2 separate regions of the Homo sapiens genome follow, and region 2 is linked to region 1. The links are contacts of gene promoters, found by promoter capture Hi-C in blood cells and fetal thymus (Javierre and others, 2016). All regions are on one chromosome and are shown on one strand. The core of a region is centred on a gene start or on the middle of the fragment in contact, and the rest is flanking DNA. Distances in the headings are between cores, read along the strand shown.

Region 1 (4,467 bases), core at 957-3,456:
TAGGGCCTCCAGCCCACACCACCCAGACCTAGGCTTCCCTCTTCTCAGGATCCACCACAGGGTTAGGGGACAGGAAGCCTGTTCTATTCTCAATAAATCTTACAAAATTCCAAAAAGACTTTCCTGTGTCCCTCTGTCCCCCTGGGGGGAAGGGACAATGGAGGAATATTCCCCAGGCCTGGGCGACTGTCCGCTGGTCAGAGGGAAGGCCCCGCTGCCTGCCCGGTGCACCTGTGAGCTGAGATTGTGGGGATCATTCAGTCATTCCTTTATTCAGTAGATCTGTACGGGGCTGGCTTTGTGCCAAGGCCTGCCCCGGGCACCTGGGATGTGGGGAACCAGGCATAGCAATCCCTGCTCTGGGACAGTCTACAAACGAGCAGCGAGAACAAAGACATACTCTGGTCATGACAGACACTACCCCGCACATTACTGATGGGGCAGTGTGGGCCTGCTGGGTTAGAGACGGCCTACTCCCTGATCTGTGCATGAAGGGCTGGGAAGAGGAGATGGGCCTTCGGGGCACAGGAAGGTGTGGGGGGACCAGAGCGGAGGCTGCTGAGGGCAGATGCAGGCATCTAGGGCCAGGAAGCTGGTGTGGTGGTGGGGAGAAGCAGGGTTGGGATGACTGAAAGCAGAGTGGACGACTCAATGAAAAACGACTTGGGAGACGGGGTGAGTGCAGTGTGAGGGCAAAGTGAACCGAGATGCCTCGCTTTCTTCATGGGACTGAGAAATGGGTATTGCAAATCGTGTGATCTGCTTAGCATAGTGCCTGGTTCATAGCATGGCTGAACACAATGTAGCTGTCATCCTGGTGTTTGGAGGCCGCCCTGTCCCCCATAACCTGCCCACCTCTCTGCCCCATTCCCACAGCTCACTGCATTTTGTCCCTGCTGCCAGTCGTGTGCCATGGGCTCTCCTGTGCTCCCCCGGGGTCTCATTTCCCCATCCGTGTAGGGCTGACGCCACTGGCCCCGCCCAGCCTGGGAGGATGGAGAGGGGGGACTTGAGGAGTGGCCAGTACTGGGTTTCGGCAGCAGGTGCAAATCCCAGGTGGGGACTGTGTTCCAGGGACTCCTGGACTCCTGTTAGGCCAGCAGGCTAAGGGGCAGACGGCATCCTGGGGTCTTCCTGGGACAGGGTCGTCGGGTCTGAGGGGACCCAGGCCCTAGCAGAAGCTGACTCCTGTCACGGTCACTTCCCAGCGGTGCTCAGCCCGCCTGACGGAAGCAGCTGGGCAGTGGGGCCTGTGACCAGCAGGCGGCGCTGGCGAGCTATAGCGCCCCTTTGGGCCCCCACCCCACCTTCTGGGCAGCTTCCCTGCAGACACCCCAGTTATGGGGGCTAGGGACCCAAAAGAGACATCCTTCTGCCACCCAGAGCTGCCCTGGCGAGGTGCACTATGGGGCCGCCGACAGCTGCGTGGCTGCCGAGGGCGGAAAGGAGAAACTGTCATGTCCCGATAGGGCCGCGCGAGGTCTCCATCCTCGACAACGCTAATAACAAAGACGTGTGCTCCTCTTTGCTTGGTTCCCCCCACTCCTTTAAATCACAGATTTCACTTCAGTTTATCTGTGTCGCTGTCACACGTGGGGTGGCTCCCAGTCAGCTGGTTTGGCAAAGTTTCTGGATGATTACGGAATAACATGTGTCCCCAACCCGCAGAGCAGGTTGTGGGGGCAATGTTGCATTGACCAGCGTCAGAGAACACACATCAGAGGCAAGGGTGGGTGTGCAGGAGGGAGAAGGCGCAGAAGGCAGGGCTTTAGCTCAGCACTCTCCCTCCTGCCATGCTCTGCCTGACCGTTCCCTCTCTGAGTCCCAAACAGCCAGGTAGAGGAGGAAGAAATGGGGCTGAGACCCCAGCACATCAGTGATTAAGTCAGGATCAGGTGCGGTTTCCTGCTCAGGTGCTGAGACAGCAGGCGGTGTCCTGCAAACAACAGGAGGCACCTGAAGCTAGCCTGGGGGGCCCACGCCCAGGTGCGGTGCATTCAGCAGCACAGCCAGAGACAGACCCCAATGACCCCGCCTCCCTGTCGGCAGCCAGTGCTCTGCACAGAGCCCTGAGCAGCCTCTGGACATTAGTCCCAGCCCCAGCACGGCCCGTCCCCCACGCTGATGTCACCGCACCCAGACCTTGGAGGCCCCCTCCGGCTCCGCCTCCTGGGAGAAGGCTCTGGAGTGAGGAGGGGAGGGCAGCAGTGCTGGCTGGACAGCTGCTCTGGGCAGGAGAGAGAGGGAGAGACAAGAGACACACACAGAGAGACGGCGAGGAAGGGAAAGACCCAGAGGGACGCCTAGAACGAGACTTGGAGCCAGACAGAGGAAGAGGGGACGTGTGTTTGCAGACTGGCTGGGCCCGTGACCCAGCTTCCTGAGTCCTCCGTGCAGGTGGCAGCTGTACCAGGCTGGCAGGTCACTGAGAGTGGGCAGCTGGGCCCCAGGTAAGGATGGGCTGCCCACTGTCCTGGGCATTGGGAGGGGTTTGGATGTGGAGGAGTCATGGACTTGAGCTACCTCTAGAGCCTCTGCCCCACAGCCACTTGCTCCTGGGACTGGGCTTCCTGCCACCCTTGAGGGCTCAGCCACCACAGCCACTGAATGAAACTGTCCCGAGCCTGGGAAGATGGATGTGTGTCCCCTGGAGGAGGGAAGAGCCAAGGAGCATGTTGTCCATCGAATCTTCTCTGAGCTGGGGCTGGGGTTAGTGGCATCCTGGGGCCAGGGGAATAGACATGCTGTGGTGGCAGAGAGAAGAGTCCGTTCTCTCTGTCTCCTTTGCTTTCTCTCTGACACTCTTTATCTCCGTTTTTGGATAAGTCACTTCCTTCCTCTATGCCCCAAATATCCCATCTGTGAAATGGGAGTATGAAGCCCCAACAGCCAGGGTTGTAGTGGGGAAGAGGTAAAATCAGGTATAGACATAGAAATACAAATACAGTCTATGCCCCCTGTTGTCAGTTGGAAAAGAAATTAACTTGAAGGTGGTCTAGTTCTCATTTTTAGAAATGAAATGTCTGTCTGGTCATTTTAAAATGTGGCCCTTAAATTTCACGCCCTCACCACTCTCCCCCATCCCTTGGAGCCCCATGTCTCTAGTGAAAGCACTGGCTCTGCCCCCAGCCCTCATGGCTCATGCTGGCATAGGGCGCCTGCTCCACAGCCTGGGCACCATCTTCAGACAAGTGCCCGGTGGCAACTGCCTGCTGGCCCTGTTGAATCCACATCTCCACCAGGCATCCAGACTAGTTCAGGTCTCTGGAAGGACTGTGGGTTTGCTGTGTCCCAGAGCTCCAGGGCAGGGGTCAGGGCTCGGATGTCGGGCAGTGTCATGGGCAGAGGATCGAATGCCCCGGCGGCTCTGAATGGGCCCTTGTGAAAAATTGATGCGCATTCTAGGAGACAGGTTGGGAGCCAGAGGGGCCTCATACCAGGGTCTGTAGGCTGGGGCTGCCTTTTAAGCTCCTTCCTGAGGCCGTCTCTGGGTCTGGCCCTGTGCTGGACAAGGCTGGAGACAAGGCAATGTCTCAGACCCTCTCCCATTGGCCACATCCTGCCCTGGATCAACTCGCCAACTTTGGGGGCAGAGGTGGGACTGACCCTTACCCTGACAACATAATGCATATAGTCAAAATGGGATAAAGGGGAATATAGAGGCTCTTGGCAGCTTGGGAGTGGTCAGGGAAGGCTTCCTGGAGGAGGTATCATCTGAACTGAGCCATGAACCATAAGTGGAAATTCACTAGTCAAAATTTCAGGTAGAAGGGCCAGTGTGTGAAGGCCAGGAGATGGCAAGAGCTGGCGTATTTCAGGAACAGTGAGTCACTGAGGATGTCCAAGTATAAGGGTAGGAAAGGGAGTGAGCAGTGAGAGAAAAGACCGAGGCATCAGCAGGGGCCAGATTGTGCTGGGCCTAGCGGGGCGGGCCCGGGCCCGGGCCCAGGCCCAGGTGCGGTGCATTCAGCAGCACAGCCAGAGACAGACCCCAATGACCCTGCCTCCCCGTCAGCAGCCAGTGCTCTGCACAGAGCCATCCTGAGGGCAGTGGGTGCTCTTGAGAGGTTTCAGGCAGGGTGTGCTGTGAGCAGGTCATGCCCAGCCCTTGACCTTCTGCTCAGTCAGGCTTGTCCTTGTCACCCACATTCCTGGGGCAGTCCCTAAGCTGAGTGCCGGAGATTAAGTCCTAGTCCTAAATTTGCTCTGGCTAGCTGTGTGACCCTGGGCAAGTCTTGGTCCCTCTCTGGGCCCCTTTGCCGTAGGTCCCTGGTGGGGCCAGACTTGCTACTTTCTAGGAGCCCTTTGGGAATCTCTGAATGACAGTGGCTGAGAGAAGAATTCAGCTGCTCTGGGCAGTGGTGCTGGTGACAGTGGCTGAGGCTCAGGTCACACAGGCTGGGCAGTGGTCAGAGGGAGAGAAGCCAAGGAGGGTTCCCTTGAGGGAGGAGGAGCTGGGGCTTTGGG
Region 2 (4,467 bases), core at 617-3,116, 470 kb after region 1:
AACTTAGGGACAGTTTTCCCCCCAGGGGACATTTTTGGTTGTTACGATGTGGGGAGAGGGAATAGGCCACTGCCATCTGAGTAGAGGCCAGGGATGCTGCTAAGCATGCTGCGGTGCACAGGACAGCTCACAACAAAGAATTATCCAGTAAGACATTAAAGCCAATGCCATGTTTTTAGTTTTTGTTAACACAGAACCCACACCTGACATGGATTTCTGTATCAGTTAACTATTGCTGTGTAACACACCATTCAAAACTTTTTTTTTTTTTTTTTTTTTTGAGACAGGATCTCACTCTGTCACCCAGGCTGGAGAGCGGTGGCACAATCTCGACTCACTGCAGCCTCAACCTCTGCAGGCTCAGTTTATTCTCCTGCCTTAGCCTCCCAAGTAGCTGGGACCACAGGCATGTGGCACCACAACCAGCTAATTTTTGTATTTCTTATAGAAACGGGGTTTTGCTATGTTGCCTGAGCTCATTACAAACTCCTGGGCTCAAGTGATCCACCCGCTTCAGCCTTCCAAGGTGTTAGGATTACAGGCATGAGCCACCATGCCTGGCCCCAAAACTGAGAATAACTTATTTTTCATGATTCTGTGGGTTATAGATGGGCAGTTCCTCTGAGATCTCTCATATAGCTGCATTCAGCTGACCAGTGGTGAGGCTGGAAAGCCCAAGGTAGCCTCACTCATATGTCTGGCAGTTGTCAGCTGTCATCTAAGATGCCTCAGTTCTCTTCCGTGTGGCCTTTCATCCTCCAGCAACCTAGACCAGCAAACTTACATGGTCAGGGCATTCTTCCAAGAGAGCAAAAAGTGGAAGCTGATGGGTTTATTGAGATGTGAACCTAGAATTCACACAGCATCACTCCTGTTACATTCAGAATTCCCATAGCCCTACTCTGCTGCATTCTATCAACACAAGTTGCAAAGCCAGCTCATTTTTAAGAGAGGGAAAGTAGACAACGTCTTGCTGGGAGAAGCAGCTACCACTAAGTCACACTGATCAGAACTGCTGTGTGAGGATGAGAAGATTAGGAAGTGAAGTCGTTTGAGTTTTAGGATGGCATAAGACTGATCAGTGGTGTTCATCTTAGATCTAGTGGAAAATCTTCAGTATACCATGGCCTTGAATACTGAAGTAAACTAAGTGAGGGTAATGATTCAGTCCATTTTTATCAATACATGCCTAAAAGTCACAGGTCATTTATATCATCATAGGTCATATTACATTATATTGTAAATGTCTGTGTGAGTCTTTATCTTTCTGCCCATGGTATCTAGTACACAGGAACTCAATAAGTTTTTGTGTAATCAAACTGAAATGACTAGCTGCCAACCAGACAATTCTGTTCACCCTTAGCAGTGGCAGGTTTAACATTCCAGGATTTGACTGTTCAAGAATGATTCCAAAGGTCTATGATATCATTTATAATTGCTGAGTCATGAATGTGAATCATGCTGTGAGGCTGGTACACTAGAAAAAACTCTTAGCTATTGAGTGAGCTTAGTTCATTGCTAAATATCTTCATCTCAACACAGCTTCATTGTTCTCGGCCTATTCAAGTGTGAAATCTCAGTAGTGAAATCTTATGAAAGGGCCACTTAATTTCCATGAAAACAGGCTACAATGGTGCATGTCAATAATAAAACTTCTGAAGATCTCAGGATCTATCTCTGTGGCTAAGTAAAAGAGGCAGAGTTGTGTGCCTAAGCTTCCACTTGGAAAAACTGCTGAAAATGTCACTGTCTGAGGGATGCTCTTAGGCTGGACTTTGAAAAGCGAAGACACAGCTCTGTGGAGTACTGCTGGACAGGCATCCAGCCTCCTCTTCCATTCCGCACTTGTGTGGCCAGACTATAGACTCCTAGCCCCATGCCAGAGAAATACCCTGGGTGCAGAGCTGGAACACAAATCCTAAAAAGTAGCCAACAGTTATAATTTGTGCTTATCTCTCATGACTACTCACAGTCCCTTCTTAAGGGCTCTGTTGACAAGTAAAAATAGAACCAATGATAAAGCTTTGGTCTATTGGTCCATTTTACCTTTTCAATACAAAGTTATGCTTGTACTCAAGAGGATCTTGGGTCATTGTATCTATTTAACTGTATTTTCATTTTACTTTTATTATTATTCATTCATTTAAATTGACAAATGTTCAGGGCAGCCAAATCTATTTTATAAAACGGTAGGAATAATAATAGAGCACATTAACTTTCAGTGTCCATTTTATAGTCTATAGGAAAAGCACTGGGTTCAAACTTTAATGTCCTCTGTCTTTTTTTTTATAGTAAGTGGCATATTATGATTTATGATTATAGTCTAAAATATGCCAGGTGATTCTGCAAAGGAAGATCACAGACTAAGAATACCTAAAATAAAAGTCACATTTAGTAACCATTTATTTCCAGTTACAAGGAAATGGAAGATAAATCATTTGAAATCACTCTGCTTAAAATCTGTTACAGGAGGAAGTCTAACAGGAGCTGTATTTAATCCAGCTTTGGCACTTTCGCTACATTTCATGTGTTTTGATGAAGCATTCCCTCAGTTTTTTATAGTATACTGGCTGGCTCCTTCTTTAGGTAAGCGTATTTTTATTTAATATGTCTGAAAGATTAGGGTATTTTAAAATATGATATGTGTATATCATTGTAACATGTCAATTTCCAAAGCCACAGCAGGCACAAAACAGAAAATGAAAAAGGTAGCTAACATGCCTGAAATAATACTTTGTGTAGTATCCTTTAAAACTGTTAAAGGTAGTCAGTTTCAGATATGCTATCACTTTAAGAAACCTTAGATCTGAGCACCAAAAAAGCAACGAGTGCTTACTTCCCTTCAAAAATAATCTTTTTTTTTTTTGCTAAAGAAATTTGTTTTTTCACATTTGTGAGCTCCAGATAAAGTATCATTTAGTTCATTTGACTCATTTTGCAGAACAGCATCTCATGAAACAATGAATACCTGTATTAAGTATAGTTTAAAAATTATCCACATTACATTCCTGTTATTTTTATTGTTTTTGTTTTGTTTTTTTTCGAGACAGGGTCTCTCTTTGTCACCCAGGCTTGAGGGCAGCGGCATGATCATAGCCATAGCTCACTGTGCTTGAACTCCTGGGCACAAGCAATCCTCCTGCCTTAGCCTCCTGAGTAGCTGGGATGACAGGCATGTGCCACCACACCCGGCTAATTTTTGTATATTTTGTAGAGATGAGGTCTCGCTATGTTGCTCAGGCTACATTCCAGTTACTTCTATTTAGATCAGATATATAAACTCTTTATAAAGATGGGTCAAATAACACACAAAATTATACAATATACAAAAAATTATTATGCATTTCTTTTGCATTACGTATATAAAGTTATCAGCATTTATTGATTTTGTTTAGTCATCTGTTTTAAGCCTGATTATAACTCATAACTGTAAGTGAATATGAAGATGCTTGGCCCTCCATTAATTCACTCTTCTTTTTATCCAGTTAGCATATTGTTCCTTGTTAGTCATTTTCTTTAAAACACACACACACATACACAGAAGGTAACACAGAAGGGAAGTGCCATAACAGGTTTGAATAGTCAATCACACTTTACTCTTCCTGTTTACCTTCCATTCCTCTATCTCACATTAATGTTATTGTTATGCTCAATATCATATTGTTATGCTCAATATTGTTATGCTCAATAATATCTATAGGCCTAAACATGAAGAATATCAGAGAAAAACTGGTTTTAAATGCTAGTAATATAACTTTTGGTCAGTTCTACAGAGTGCTAGTATTTTCCGATAACTTCTTTAAAGAAAAATTTTCTCTGTTTTTAGGCCGGGCGCAGTGGCTCACGCCTGTAATCCCAGTACTTTGGGAGGCCGAGGCAGGCAGATCATGAGGTCAGGGGATTGAGACCATCCTGGCTAACATGGTGAAACCCCGTCTCTACTAAAAATACAAAAAATTAGCTGGTCGTGGTGGCGGGCACCTGTAGTCCCAGCTACTTGGGAGGCTGAGGCAAGAGAATGGTGGGAACCTAGGAGGCGGAGCTTGCAGTGAGCTGAGATCGCACCACTGCACTCCAGCTTGGGCGACAGAGCGAGACTCCATCTCAAAAAATCCGTTTTTAAATTTTAAAGTTAAAAAGGTCACTAATGTAAAGAAGTTAAGAAGTTAACAAACAAGGTCACTAGTTGGGCAGGCCTACAGGTAGTTTTTATATGAAAAAATTCCCCCAGTATGTCTGGAGACTAACATATATTAACATGATTTATTTGTTAGCGTGCTCCAACTACTATTGTAACAGTAGGCTAAGGCAAAGGTCCCCAAACCCCAGGCTGCAGACCAGTATAGTCCGTGGCCTGTTAGTAACCAGGCCGCACAGCAGGAGGTGAGTGGCAATCAAGCTTACAAAGCTCCGTCTCCTGTCAGATCAGCGGTGGCATTAGATTCTCATAGGAACGTGAACCTTACT

Evidence for each region. Contacts are between HindIII fragments. The CHiCAGO score rates a contact against its expected background, and 5 or more counts as called.
Region 2: a fragment that was not itself captured here is called in contact with the fragment with the promoter of MYO7A in region 1 in 1 of 17 cell types (M1 macrophages); the score reaches 5.5 in M1 macrophages.

Annotation. Positions count from the first base shown.
Region 1 is chr11:77,126,040-77,130,506 of GRCh38, forward strand. MYO7A (myosin VIIA) reads left to right here and starts at 2,207. Exons shown (of 49, transcript NM_000260.4): 1 at 2,207-2,450. CAPN5 (calpain 5) reads left to right here. Exons shown (of 13, transcript NM_004055.5): 13 at 1-116. RefSeq lists enhancers at 893-1,615, 1,616-2,339, 3,062-3,785. The HindIII fragment of the contact is 18,517 bases long and covers 1-4,467 here.
Region 2 is chr11:77,601,087-77,605,553 of GRCh38, forward strand. AQP11 (aquaporin 11) reads left to right here. Exons shown (of 3, transcript NM_173039.3): 2 at 2,470-2,586. Among named protein-coding and RNA genes, the nearest start is that of AQP11, 13 kb to the left of the region's middle. RefSeq lists an enhancer at 4,151-4,467. The HindIII fragment of the contact is 307 bases long and covers 1,714-2,020 here.